2 separate regions of the Homo sapiens genome follow, and region 2 is linked to region 1. Evidence: promoter capture Hi-C in 16 types of primary human blood cells and fetal thymus (Javierre and others, 2016). All regions are on one chromosome and are shown on one strand. Each heading gives the region's core, a stretch centred on a gene start or on the middle of the fragment in contact. The rest is flanking DNA. Distances are from core to core; before and after follow the strand shown. Region 1 holds the start of C2CD4A (C2 calcium dependent domain containing 4A). Region 2 holds the start of LOC105370855 (a long non-coding RNA gene).

What was found. Contacts are between HindIII fragments. The CHiCAGO score rates a contact against its expected background, and 5 or more counts as called.
Region 2: a contact is called between a fragment that was not itself captured here and the fragment with the promoter of C2CD4A in region 1, in 1 of 17 cell types (M0 macrophages). The highest score is 5.0, in M0 macrophages.

What each region holds. Positions count from the first base shown.
Region 1 is chr15:62,064,092-62,071,406 of GRCh38, forward strand. C2CD4A (C2 calcium dependent domain containing 4A) reads left to right here and starts at 2,886. Exons shown (of 2, transcript NM_207322.3): 1 at 2,886-2,997; 2 at 3,494-6,826. The coding sequence starts at 3,523. The coding sequence ends at 4,632. RefSeq lists enhancers at 2,540-2,709, 3,110-3,625 and silencers at 2,699-2,993, 3,856-3,905, 4,036-4,175, 4,226-4,715. The HindIII fragment of the contact is 6,406 bases long and covers 1-5,187 here.
Region 2 is chr15:62,683,128-62,689,849 of GRCh38, forward strand. TLN2 (talin 2) reads left to right here. Exons shown (of 59, transcript NM_015059.3): 12 at 3,514-3,669. It overlaps LOC105370855 (a long non-coding RNA gene), which reads right to left and starts at 4,898. Exons shown (of 5, transcript XR_007064673.1): 1 at 4,692-4,898; 2 at 855-977. The HindIII fragment of the contact is 3,092 bases long and covers 2,458-5,549 here.

The DNA of each region.
Region 1 (7,315 bases), core at 1,636-4,135:
TAAAGAAGGTGAATCATTAATAAAAACAAAGTAGATCTGCTTTGCTTGCCTGAGGAGAAAAATGTTTTTAAAGGAATCCATGTATGAATCAGCTAATCCCTGCCCAAGCAAACATTCATAATAAAATGATAGTAATAATAATAACTGTTAGCTAGTGTTTAACTGCCAACCAAGCATTTTCATGCATATCTTTTTAACCCCCACAACAATCTTAATGTGGTCGGTATTATTACCCTCATTTTATAACTTGAGCTCAGACAGGTTCATTAACTTGCTTAACAACTTTTCAGCCAACTTCTCAGACTGTAAACTCTGATCTGTGCTCCTAATCACTTTAACCAAGAGCTCTCAACAGGGCTAACAACATTCTTGTCTCCCAGGAAAAGCTGAGTCAGAACACATGCACATGGCCCTCAAGTATATAATTTGATAAAACTTTTCCCATAGATTTAGCCCTGGCCCAAGAATTTTGGCAAAGAGTAGAGGTGATTTCAAGACAAAGAAGTAGGCTGGGCTTAGTGGCTCGCACCTGTAATCCCAACACTTTGGGAAGCCGAGGCTGGGGGATCTCTTGAGCCCAGGAGTTTGAGACCAGCCTGGGCAACATGGCAAAATCCCATGTCTATAAAAAATATAAAAATTAGCCAGGTAGTGGTGCATGCCTGTAGTCCCAGCTACTCAGGAGGGGGACATGGGAAAATCACCTGAGCCTGAGAAGTTGAGGTTGAAGTGCCCTTGATTGCACCACTGCACTCCAGCCTGGGCATCAGAGTGAGCCCCTGTCTCAAAAAAAAAAAAAAAAAATAGCTATTCAAGGACACAGTAAATCCAGAGACCCACCAATCCTGCCCCCTACTAGAAACATATAAGTAATGTTCAGGCCAGGTACAGTGGCTCACACCTATAGTCCTAGCACTTTGGGAGGCTGAGGTGGGCGGATCACTTTGAGCCCAGGAGTTCAAGACCAGCCTGGTCAACATGTTGAAACTCCATCTCTCCAAAAAAAAAAAAAAGTTAGTCGGGCCTGGTGGCTCATGCCTGTAGTCTCAGCTACTTGGGAGGCTGAGGTTGGAGGATTGCTTGAGCCTAGAAAGCAGAGGTTGCAGTGAGCCAAGATTGTACCACTGCACTCCAGCCTGGGCAAGAGAGTAAGACCCTGTCTTAAAAATAAATAACTAAATAAATAATGTTCGGTAGTCTCTTCTCACGCCTGCCTCACCCAGATGGAATTCAAATAGTTTATCCTCATCATTTTACTCCATCATTTATGGATTTACATAGCTGATATGATCTTGTACAGCCAACCTGTATCCACTTGCCTAACATGATGGCTGGAACCTAGAAAACATTCAGTACATGTTACTTTGAATGAATGAACTAATGAGCATTTGCTCTCTTCTGTAATAATAATATTATATCCGACATTGTGTATGTCATGCCCTATGCTGAACTCTTCATATTCACCATCTTACTTTATACTCATGATAACCGTATAGGTTGACACTATTATTAATTTTAAATTTGATACTGTGGCTTAGAACAGTTAACTTGCTCAAGGTCACATAGCAACCATTCTGGCATTAACAGTAGATCCAATTTCAGACCCAATTTTCTTAACCACTATACTTTACAACTTTCCTTCTATCTTTATTAATAATAATCAGTTCTATGTATTTAGCACTTACCATGTTACATGGTGCAAAATATTTTACATTATTATTTCCCCAAACAGCTCATTTATACCCATTAGTAGGTATGATTTCCTCCATTTCCCATCATTATGTGACCTTGGATAAGATACTTGACCTCTGAAACTGAGTTTTCATCTATAAAATAAGGATGATCCGAATATGCAGGGTTTCTGTGACAGTTCTACAGACTATATGTAAATCATCTAGCACAGTGCCTGTGTGTCCTGGAAACAAAATGCACATGCCCTATCCTGAAATCATTTTTGCATGAATTCAATTTAATTCATTAAATATTATTTAGACAAGTGAATAGTTTGCAAGGCAGTATCTTAGGCAGAAATATCTGCCTGAACGCTGAACAAAATGCCTCAGATCTCTTTCAGCCTGAGCTAACTGGAAGCAACTCTCTTACAAAATGAACACAGGTTAGTTTTCAAAAGGAAGGAAAAGGGTCTCTCTGGTGGGCACAGCCTAGAAAGGCCAGATGTAGTCAGGGCGCCTCCAAAGGATGATTCCAACTGCCCAGATGCATGCAAGTGTACATTTTCCCGATAAAAAATCAGCACACATGGCTTAAGAAGTAGATTGTGATTTTTTAAATTGATGTATAACATACAATAAAGTACTCTAATCTTAAGTGTACACTAGTTGATTGTTTTTACATATGGATACACCTCTGTAACTCCACCCTGATCAAGACATGAAATGTTCCCCCTAACCCAGAGGGGTTTATAATCAGAAAAGAACATCTAAAATCAGAACTGAAAACCGGAAAGCAAGTAAAGAACTTCGAAAGCTGGGCAACTGGGAAGCTGGATTTGGGGAAGGGTATTAGGCAAGAATAAGACAAACCGGACTTGTCTTCATTTTAATGGTGAATGTAGAGTACTTCTACGTGCTCACATTCATTACGCCCGTCGATCCTCACAATGACTCTGCGGTATAGTAGAGACTTAATACCATTTTGCATGTGAGGAAACAGAAACTTGTTCGGGGTTTCCGAGGAAAACACCTCCACCTGAAGCCGGAGAGAGAAAGAACTGGGTCTCCAAACCTTGCTCAGCAAATCCAGCCACGTGGCAGAGGGACAGGGAAGAGCCTGGCGTCAGGTTACCAGGCAGCGCCCCTCTGCTCGGCCCACTGGCAAGCGCTCCCAGCGGCAGGTATAAAAGCTCAGGCTGGCAGTCCTTGAACACTGGTGCTGAACCCCGCCGCGCGCGCTTTGAATTTCCCAGCCGCTAAGCGCCTCTCCTGGTCGGTGTCCCAGGCAGAAAGGTGCAGAGACCCATCTGACGCAGGACTCCAGGTATTTTAGGAGGGACCCATCGGCTTGCTTAATTCCCTGGGGGATTCGTCTGAGGCTCTTTGCCTCTGCAAGGGGAGAACCAGCCACAGTTTCCCGGAAGGAATAACAATTACTTTAATTCTAGCTGAGGACTAGACTGCTATGGTCCAAAGAGTCAGGAAACGATTGCAAGGCAATCGTTGGCACAGAGAACAGAGCGACTGAAGTTACAATCCAGCATTTTGTGAATCTCTGCCTTAGGCCAGCCAGGGCGGAGAGGGATTAAAACAAGCTCCGAAGTGTGTATTACAACACAGTTGAGATAGGACAAAAGAAAAACAGTTGTTTTTCGCTCACTGAAAAAATAGTTTGCAATAGCGGCAAGCAAGAGCAGTTTGCCTTGTTTCGGGAAAGGCAGGAAGAAACACCCCGAAAGTATTAATAGGAGAAAAGGAACAGGATTTACTGCACCTTGCGGGACTCGCTCTGACGATCCTTGTGCCTTTGTGCACTGCAGGTAGACAAGCTCCAGCAGAGAGTGGCCAGATGTGGTGCCTGGAGCGACTCCGCTTGGGTCCTGAGTGCCTTCGGCGGAGCGGAGACTGGCTTCTCCCGGGTCGGGCCCGCGGAGCCAAGTCTCGCACCACCGCCGCGTGCGCAAATGTGCTCACTCCGGACCGCATCCCTGAGTTCTGCATCCCGCCACGGCTCATGCCCCGCCTGGCCTTGGCTGCGCTCCGGAATTCTTGGGTCGAAGAAGCAGGGATGGACGAGGGCGCCGGCCGCACAGACTGGGACCCGCGCTCGCAGGCCGCGCTGTCACTGCCGCACCTGCCCCGTGTGCGCACCGCCTACGGCTTCTGCGCGCTGCTCGAGAGCCCGCACACGCGCCGCAAGGAGTCGCTCCTGCTCGGGGGCCCGCCCGCGCCCCGGCCCCGGGCCCACACCTACGGCGGCGGCGGCGGCCCGGACGCCCTCCTGGGGACCCTGCGCGTCCCGCGAGCTCCGGGCCCGGCGACCCCCGCGGCCCCCGGCTGTCCCCGCCCGCCCCAGGACGCGCTCGCCCGGCGGCCCCGCGGCTGCCGCCTCCTGCGCGTCCCCGACGGGCTGCTGAGTCGCGCGCTGCGGGCTGGGAGGAGTCGCCGCCTGACCCGCGTCCGCTCCGTCTCCAGCGGGAACGAGGACAAGGAGCGCCGCGCGGGCTCCCAGTCCCCGGCCCGGGCCCCCTCCACGAGCCCGCCGTCGTCCCGGGTCCCGTTTCCCGAGCGCCTGGAGGCCGAGGGCACCGTGGCTCTGGGCCGCGCCGGCGACGCCCTGCGCCTGGCCGCCGAGTACTGTCCGGGAACCGGGCGGCTCCGCCTCCGGCTGCTCCGCGCCGAGAGCCCGGCCGGAGGCGCCCCCGGGCCCCGAGCCGTCAGCTGTCGCCTCAGCCTCGTCCTGCGGCCGCCGGGCACCGCGCTTCGGCAATGCAGCACTGTGGTGGGGCGCAGCCGCAAGGCCTCCTTTGACCAGGACTTCTGCTTCGACGGCCTCTCGGAGGACGAAGTGCGCCGCCTGGCCGTTCGAGTCAAGGCCCGGGACGAGGGCCGCGGCCGGGAGCGGGGCCGCCTGCTGGGCCAGGGTGAGCTGTCCCTGGGCGCCCTCCTGCTGCTCTGAGGGCCCAGCCCTCCCCGGGGCGCTCTGCCCGGGGGACTCCGGACACTGACAGCCGCGTGGTACAAAATAAACGTGTATTTGTTGTTCTTATCAGTCCCGTTTCAGTACAACACTGGCAGAGATGATTCTAGATTAACTATCCCAGTAAAAGATATGATATTTTCCATAGATACCTCCAGAATTTTTTTCAGCAAATGGAATGGTTCTACAGTGTTTCCCAATATAGACAGCCATTTGCATACCATATGTACCACACACGCCTAGGAAATAATGAATCACATGAAGTGTTAGAACTAGAAAGTGTCTTGGCGATCTGTTTGCTCCAATCACCTCATTTTAAAATTGGTGCTTTCCACAACATGCATGGAGACCATCTTGGAGCATTTACTTTTGAAGCATTTTGTTTAAGACCCCGGATAAGAAAATGAGGGCAAAAGAGGTGAAGTGACTTGTCCAAGATCAACAGTGAATTATTAGTTGGAACGCCAGCCTGATACTCCTAGCTATATCTCACTGGAAAAGCATTGGAGAAAATGAAACCATTTTAATATTCTAAGCTTAAATAATAGTTATAATAGGCTAGGTGTGGCGGCTCACGCCTGTAATCCTGGCACTTTGGGAGGCCGAGGCGGGCAGATGGCTTGAGCCCAGGAATTTGAGACCAGGCTGGGCAACATGGGAAGACCGCGTCTCCATAAAAAATACAAAATTTAGCCGGACGTGGTGGCACGCACCTGTAGTTCCAGCTACTCTGGGGCTGAGGCGCAAGGATCACTTGAGCCTGGGAGGTCAAGGCTGCAGTGAGCCGAGATCGTGCCACTGCACTCCAACCTGGGCAACCGGAGTGAGACCCTGTCTGCAAATAATAATAATAATAATAAATAGTTTTACAAGCGTTAATTTATGTTTTAACCCCCAAAAGGAGGCACTGCTATGCCCATTTTACAGATGAGGATATTGAGGCACAGAATAAAGAGCAGAGCCAGAATTTGAACCTAGACAATCAGCATTTCACTCATTACTCTTATGTAGGTAATACCACAGTGTCTAAAGGGCTCGCTATTAAAGTTGCGAGTATTGTGCAACTTCTCTCTGAAACTGTTGACACTGAAGTTCGTGTCTACTTGTATTCCTCATCCTGCTTTTGGTGAAAAAACAAATTGCTTGAAATGAATAATTTATTATCTCATGCTAATAACTTCAGGCATTGAGATGAGCTGATGGGTCTAAAGCTCTGAGGAGGAAGCTAACCGGCCTCAGAATCATAGAAATGGGTGCCAGCCTTGTTGTAACCAGGTGAGTTTATCTGCTGGAACAGGCAGTGGAGAGTGTACAGATAGCATGGTTTTACCTCTGGCTTCTGATAATAATTCCAGATTTAACAATCCTGTTTTAGAGGACGATTTTCCCTCATCCCTTGAATTCACTGCCAGCAGGGCATTTTTTTCTTTTTTTTATGCAAATAGGAAAATGCATCCTAAATGAGGGTTTAAAAAATTGAAAATATTTAAATATACAGGATGGTGTTAAATATGACTCCATTATCAATCTGGATTCAGAAATGGTTTCTGCTTTATTTTATTTCATTTTATCTTTTAGAAACAAGGCGTCACTCTGTCACCCAGGCTGGAGTGCAGTGGTGTGATCATAGCTCACTGCAGCCTCTACCTCCTGACACAAGCTGTCATCCCGCTTTGGCTTCTCAAAGTGCTAGGATTATAGGCGTGAGCCACCATGCCCGACCAGTTTCTGCTTTTATTAAAATTGTTCACAGTTTTATACATTCATGTTCATTAAAAATGCTATTTAGAAAAGAGTTTGATAAAATAAATATTATACAAAATTCGAAGAAAAAAGAAAAGAGTTTCTGTTTCAGTCACAAATTAGGGTTATTGTGATGTGTATTTATGATGACCATTGAACAAATGTGAAGAATACTGTGAATTCTATGACTTTATCAAAATCAGCCACATCCAGGAGCTTGCAGTTGTTGACCAAATGAATGATGACATAGAGTAGTTCAGATCTATCATGTGCTCTTCTATCTAATCAGTCAATATTTCCTTGGCCCTCAAGCCAACATTCATTTTTTATGTATAACCTTCTTCATGATTTTGAAATTTTGATAGGGTAACTGCTAATGAGTTCACAAATGTAGCACTTTAAAAGGAAAATAAATGGAGAGTGAAAACAACTTGGCTACGTATAATTGTGGGTTTTAATTTTTCTGTTTTTAAAATAAAAAATGGCATTGATAGTTTCAATAGCCCAAGTTTTTATTCCAGAAGATGTTGCAATAACTGTTGTCACTAGATTATATACATGTCATTTTATTAAGTAGATTTTTTTTCGTGAAAGTAAATCAGTGCATTTGAGGGATCTAAATTTTTTATGAAATAGTGGTGGTGATTTCCAAACAGAATCACCATTAATGGCAAGTTATGGTTGATCAAATAACCTGAGTCTAATCAAAAAGGTTTTAAAGGGGCTGAGATAGAATCATAAATGATAAAATCATAAAATTTTAGAGTTGAAAAGAACTTTAATAATCATTTTGTGCCGGGTGCGGTGGCTCATGCCTGTAATCCCAGCACTTTGGGAGGCCGAGGCAGGCCGATCACAAGGTCAAGAGTTTGAGACCAGCCTGACCAACATAGTGAAACCCTGTCTCTACTAAAAATGC
Region 2 (6,722 bases), core at 2,754-5,253, 620 kb after region 1:
CTCTAGTGAGCTCAGCTGGATCATGGGGAGGACCCTTTGGGCTTGGGCCATATTGAAGTGAGGGTCCAGGAGCCAGAAGCTCAGTCCAGTTGCATTCCTCCATCCAGTTCTGGATCTCAGATGTGAGGCAGAGGTGATGCAGAATCAGGCAATCTCTACACCAGTGAAAAGAGCCTGCAGACAGCAGTCTTGATCACAGCTGGCTGCCAGGGCTGAACCCGTAGTTTTAGCTGAAATACGTTTGAAAGAGGAGGGCTTGGGTTTATTAGCGAATCCTGCCTCTCATTGGTAGAATGCCTGCATTCTCCCGCCTCTCATTGGTAGAATGCCTGCATTCTCCCGCCTCTCATTGGTAGAATGCCTGCATTCTCCCGCCTCTCATTGGTAGAATGCCTGCATTCTCCCGCCTCTCATTGGTAGAATGCCTGCATTCTCCCGCCTCTCATTGGTAGAATGCCTGCATTCTCCTGCCTCTGAGTTACACAAGCTGTAGACATTTTCAAAACAAAAACAATCTAATCAGGACCATCTTGAGAGAGAAGCTTCTAGATGGCCGTCAAAAATCACAGCTACAGCTCTTTGTGTGTGTTGGTATATGAGATAGATGGGTCTTCACTGGTGCCTGCTTTAGCCTGCTTTGTCTACTGGAGATAAAAGGAAGCTGGTCTGTGTAGTTGAAGGTCGGAAAGGAGTGGTTCGGGGGTACTGAGACTTGAGGCATAGGAAGGAAAGAGGGAGCTTTATTACCCTGTGGCCCTCCCGTCACATCCCTGTCACTGAGGCTCTAAGGCAGGTCTCTGCACCGGGGAAGACCTTGCATCACGATCACAGATCTCAGCCATTTGCTACTTTACCTTTCTCCAGCTGCTCTGCGTTTTGTGTGTAGGTGCTGAAGTAATTTTATCCCTTGATGGTGGTCTCTGTTGCCAGTTGCAGTATTTTTTGAGTTCCCTCAGCCCCTTTTCCTCAGTTGTGACCTGTTGATAGAGCGTCCACTGTAAGTTGTTTGTTCACTGTGGCTTCCTCTCCCAATCTGGAATGATCTTGACAAGAATTAGGGCAATCCGTCACGATTCTGTGTTCCCGCACCCCAGAAGCCCTCACTGGGGAACAGTGCAGATGGGAAAGAATGAAGGAAGCAGCTGCAAACCATATTTTATCTCCAGTCCCCTTCCTGGGTCCCAGAAGCTGGGATTGTGCCAACCCTGTGTGACTAAATTAGCTGCCTAGAGCCTATCAAGCTAAAACTCTGTGTGGCTCCTGAAGCCAAAGTAGATTAACTGACATTGTCTGCCCTGCACTGATCTCACCCCTTGTGGAACTGCCCTCTCTTTGAAAAAAATCTGACGCTTGTCAGTGTTTTTTAAGACTTGAGGTTCAGGGAGGAATATTCCCCTCCTCAGACACCCAGGTAGATTCCTCATACCATGGTGTCCTCCGTGAGGAAGCTGGGGGTGTGCGGTGACTGTCACCATCTGAGGGTTACCAGATGCCCATGGTGAGGGCGGTTGGGGGTGGGTAGGATTTGGCCTTTTCTCTTTTTGCTTCCACCAGAAGACAGTAAACTGCAGTAGACAGTCAGCTTTTGAAGTCAGAGATATTTTTGAGCTACTCAAATCTATGTTCAAATTATGGCTTTACCACTCACCACTGTTGGCTTTGGTCTCTTCACTTGCAAAGTGAAAAATGATGATACCAGTGTTTTGGAGATGCTCTGAAGATTAACAGATGGTGCTTATTAAGTATCTAGTATGTTCCAGCTCTGTTTTATGTGCCATTACCCTGTGTTGGGTGTGTGTAGACACATCCACAAATGCATAGATACTTTGTGTGAATGTATATATCTAGGCCTCTGAGAATAGCAGTTTAGGTGTTGTTGCTAGGTTTCAGCAAATATGAGTTGAAAAGGTTTTCCTGACAGCCCTAAAAATACACACTTAATAGTGAAATTTTGGAAATAAGGAAAAGCATGAAAAAATAATACAAAACACATGAGATGTTCAGTGCCTTTTTCATGTAATGGACATAGGCCTATTTTTAAATTTTTATTTCCTCTAAGATTAGGCCCTATATTCTGTTTTTTAATAATATATTATGAATAATTTACTTCCATAAAACCAATTGTTTTTCTACAATATGATTTTTAATAATGTAGGGTAATCTGTTATCTGGATATATCATAATTTATGTATCAAGTCCTGTGTTATTGAAAACTTGGATTGTTTCATCTACAGCCATACCACCCTGAATGGGCCTAATGTTGTCTGAAAATTGGGTGGTTTCTAGCTTTTCACTATGATGTACTGTGGTTGAGCTTCATGTGGCATAATCTTTACACACATTTATAACTTTTTTTTAAACTAAATTTCTCAAAGCTAGCTGTGTCAAAAGTAAGGACTTTTTAAGGGTTTGGATAGATAGTGACACATTTTCCCCCATGAAGGCTTTGCTATCTTAAGCTTTCATCACTAGTGACCCGCTTCACATCTTCCTCAAATCTGAGTATTAATTTTAATAAGAAACCTTAGCTATTTTAAGTGAAAACTTATTTGCTTATTTATTTTAAAAACATTTTCTGTTCATATTCTTCAGCAGTTATTTTGTTGATTTATGAACACATCACATAGACAGTATATGAAGTCTATTGCCATTACATTCATTGTAAATATTTATTGCCCAGTCTTTTTCATTTTTTATGAGGTTTCTTTAGCTTCTGCTCTCCTCCCCCTGGTCTATCAAAAGTATGTATATTTTGAGTTAAGCATATTAATCGTTTCCTTTATGGCTTCTTATGTTGGTGTTTTTCTTAGGAAATCATTTGTCACCCAAGGATCACAAAAATATCCACTTGGATGTTCTTCCTAAATTATTAATCTGTCTCTGTCTTTAATTTGTTTTGGTATGAGTGTGAGCTAGGGTTCCATTATTTTAATAGACATTACTATATCTTAAAACATTATTAAAACTAGTTATAAAATAAGTTTTAAGAATCAGTAGATATACAAAATTCCAAAACAAAGAATCCAAACAGAAATATATTTCAGAGATTTAAAAAAAAGGGCAGGAAGCTGTGTCTCCTCATAATGAGAAGATTCTACTTTGACAGAGTTTTAGTTAAGTTAATTTTAAATCTCAGATTAACCCTTGTTTGTTACTCACTGAGTTGGCCACTGGGAGTGATAGTACCTGGAATTCACCTTTGCTTGTTTTTCTCTGGATGTCTTTTCAGTTCTATCCCATCTTTCTGGCATCGTCTGTTTTTGGAGCAAGCTGCTCTCCTGAACAGGGGGCATGATTTTGTGGCTCTTTCCAGTCTTCTCATGTCTTTGTTTGAGTTCCCATGCCTTTAGTTTAATGAGTTATTCACCTAGCCTCAAAATCTTGGTTTCCCTATAGCCCTACCTGTTTTGAAAGACAGTGTATGCAGGTGAAAGGTCAAAAAATCACTGATTCCCTGGCAAAGTCAGATGTATTCAGAAGAAGAGCACTGACTCTTGGTATCTCCTGTTTCAGGAGAAGATGAAAGGCAAGAACAAGCTGGTGCCTCGCCTGCTGGGGATCACCAAAGACTCGGTGATGCGCGTGGATGAGAAGACCAAGGAAGTGCTGCAGGAGTGGCCCCTCACCACCGTCAAGCGCTGGGCAGCCTCACCCAAGAGCTTCACACTGGTAGGGACTGGCAGAGGGCAAGGAGAGCACTAGCGTGGCCTTGAGTGATATTGTGGGGACAGGAGAAAGACCAGATTCTTGCCCATTGGGTTTCTCTGGCCTGGGAGAGCCAGCGTGGAGTGAGGAAGATGGTGCAAGCCCATGGGCAGGGAAGGGGATGGGTCCAGAAGTAAAAGAGAGGTCAGCAAGCCTGGGTTTCTTCAGGCACTACTGCTTCTCTGCACTCTACATAAGTCAGCCTCTAGTTCATTATCTAGAAAAAGCCACTCACCCAGATGATTCTCAGTTCTGTGTTCCTGATGACATCCCTAGCATATACTGAAAGGAAACTTTCTAGTGCTCTGAGACACAAAGGCCCCCTCTCTGTTTTAGATGGTCCTAAGCATTGTGATTATCTTGCTGAGGAATGTTTTCCCAGCCTGCCTAGAAAGAGAGCATAGTACACAGTGGAAATAACGTGGACTTTAGGATAGTATTATTATAGAAATCCAGTTTGTCATTTCCCAGCTGTGTGACCTTGTTCAAGTTACCTTTCCTCTCTGAGCCTTAATTTCTTCAGCTATAAAATGGTGATAGTCCTACCTACAGAGCTGCTAGGATTGAATAAGATGAAGATAAGATGCTTAGTATAAAATTTATGGAAAGTAGTGAGAATATGTTTGTTTCAGGTCTTCAGACCTCTGAATTCTTCCTCCTGATTTCAACATTTGTTGTTAGCAGAGTATAACTCTATGCCTTAACTATAGCCACATTTACATGTGAAACACAATAGAGCGGGTGGTTGGTAGGGCAAGATGTGCAATAAGAAAAATCAAAAAGTGCTAGAATTTGTCAGTTCTTAAGACTCTTGAAGTCTCTAGTGAATGCTTGAAATATCACCTCTTATCTATGCAAGATATCATAATAGGACATCAGAAAAAAAACTGTGTAAAGAAGGGGCCATGGAAAGAGTCATTAGTTATCTAATTTGACTATAGATTGATAGGTTCCTGCCAATTATAAGGAATCATCAGAAAACATACCTTCTTTCCTCTTGTAGCTGTAACATTTGTGCCTGTGTGGCCCTCAAAAGATGAATGTTCATACTTAGCTGTGTCCTCATCTTCCATTGCAGGAAGTCATGGATGATTTCTAAATTAGAAAAATCAAGAAATCAATATAAACATATTATTTAGAAATACTAGAAGCAACTGCTAAAAGAGTTGAAAGTGGTTACCTTTGGAGAGGTATGTGGTAGAAAGTGAAGTTGGGAATGGGTAGGACAGGGAACAACTGTGTTTTGTTTTACATCTTGTAATACTATTGGTCTTTTTAAACTAGGTCCAAGTATTTATTGAAAACAAAAATTTATTTAAAAAATGAATAGTTATGATAACCTCATTAACTACCTCAGGCAAAAGAGAGAATAACAGTATTTTGATTAAAGCATAACGTCACATTAAAGCCCATTATACGTAGTGATTTTTTCCTTCCTACTCCTAGCCTTTATTTAATTTCCAAGTGTTTAGAGGTTTTTCTGCTGTCTTTCTACTATTGATTTTTTAGTTTGATTCCATTATGGTCAGAGAACATACTCTGTATGATTTCAGTCCTTTTGAAATTTTAAGGTTTGTTTTTATATCCCAGGATATCCTTTTTGGTGAGTGTTCTACGAGTATTCAAAAAGAACATATATTCTGCTATTATCATGTAAAGTGGGCTCTATAAATACCAGTTAGATCCCTATTAGTTGATGGTGGTGTTCCAGTCTTTTGAATGAATATCTTTGTTAATTTTCTGCCTGGCAGTTTTCTCAGTTGCCGAGAGTGAGGTTCTTAACAGTAATTATGGATTTTTCTACTTTTTCTTTCAGCTCTCAGTTTTTGTTTCATGTAATTTGAAGCTTTGTTGTTTGATGCCTGTACATTTAAGATTCCTCTATCTTAACAGAGAAGTTGTTTTTTCCTTATGTAATGTTATTTTCTGTTAGTAATTTTTGTTTTTCTCTGAAGTCTACTGTATCTAATGTTGACATAGCCACCAATGCTTTTTATAAAACTAATGTGGGCATGATACATCTTTTTCCATCCTTTTATTTTCAACTTGCATATACTGTTATATTTGAAATGAATTCTTGTAGAGAGCATAATTAGTTGGGTTATATTTTTTTAATCCATTCTATCTCAGTTTTAATTGGTATATTTACACTATATTTAAGCTAATTATTGATATGTTAGGGCCCAAGTCTATCATTTTGTAGTTTTTCTGTTTGTCCACTTTATTTCTCTCTCTCTTTTTTTTTTTTTTTTTGCCTTTTCTGTGGGTTACTTGGACACCTTTTTAGAGTTTGTTTGCTTTGTGTGTTACGTTTTGAGCATATCACTTTGTGTAGTGTTCTTAGTGGTTATTTTGGATATTACCATGTCCATATGAAATTAAACACAGTCTACTGGTAATGGCTTTTCCCCCTTAAGTGTAGAAACCTTACTTCCATTTAGGTCTTTTTACCTACCCACTCCCCACACTTTTTGAGTATAATTATTTAAATATTTTTTCAGTATACACATAAGATGGTTATTTTGTCTATAACCACATAAGATGGTGTTACAGCTTCTGCTTTGAACACAAAATGTGATGAAAGAAACTCATGAGGTGAAGAACCGTCTATTACACTTCCCTTTATTTTTATCTACCCCATTGTTCTTCTTGCCTTTCTAAAGTTCCCAGCCTTCTTCTGTTATCATTTTGTGTTTGGAGAGCTTCCTTTAGCTATTTGTTAAGGGTACATCTGCTAGCAACAAATTGACTTTGTGTTTTTTTCCTCTGAGAATGTTATTATTTCCCCTTCATTCATGAAGGATAATTTTGCCAGGTACAGCATTTGGGATTGACAGTTCCTTTCTTTTAGTATCTGAAAAGTGTCATGCCACTTCTTTCTTACCTCCATGGTTTCTAATGATAAATTTGCTGTCATTCAAGTTGGTGTCAATTTGTAGGTAATATGTCATTTTTCTGTGGCTGTTTTTAAGATATTTTTATCTCTAGTTTTCAAAATTCTTGGTATGGGCTTCTTT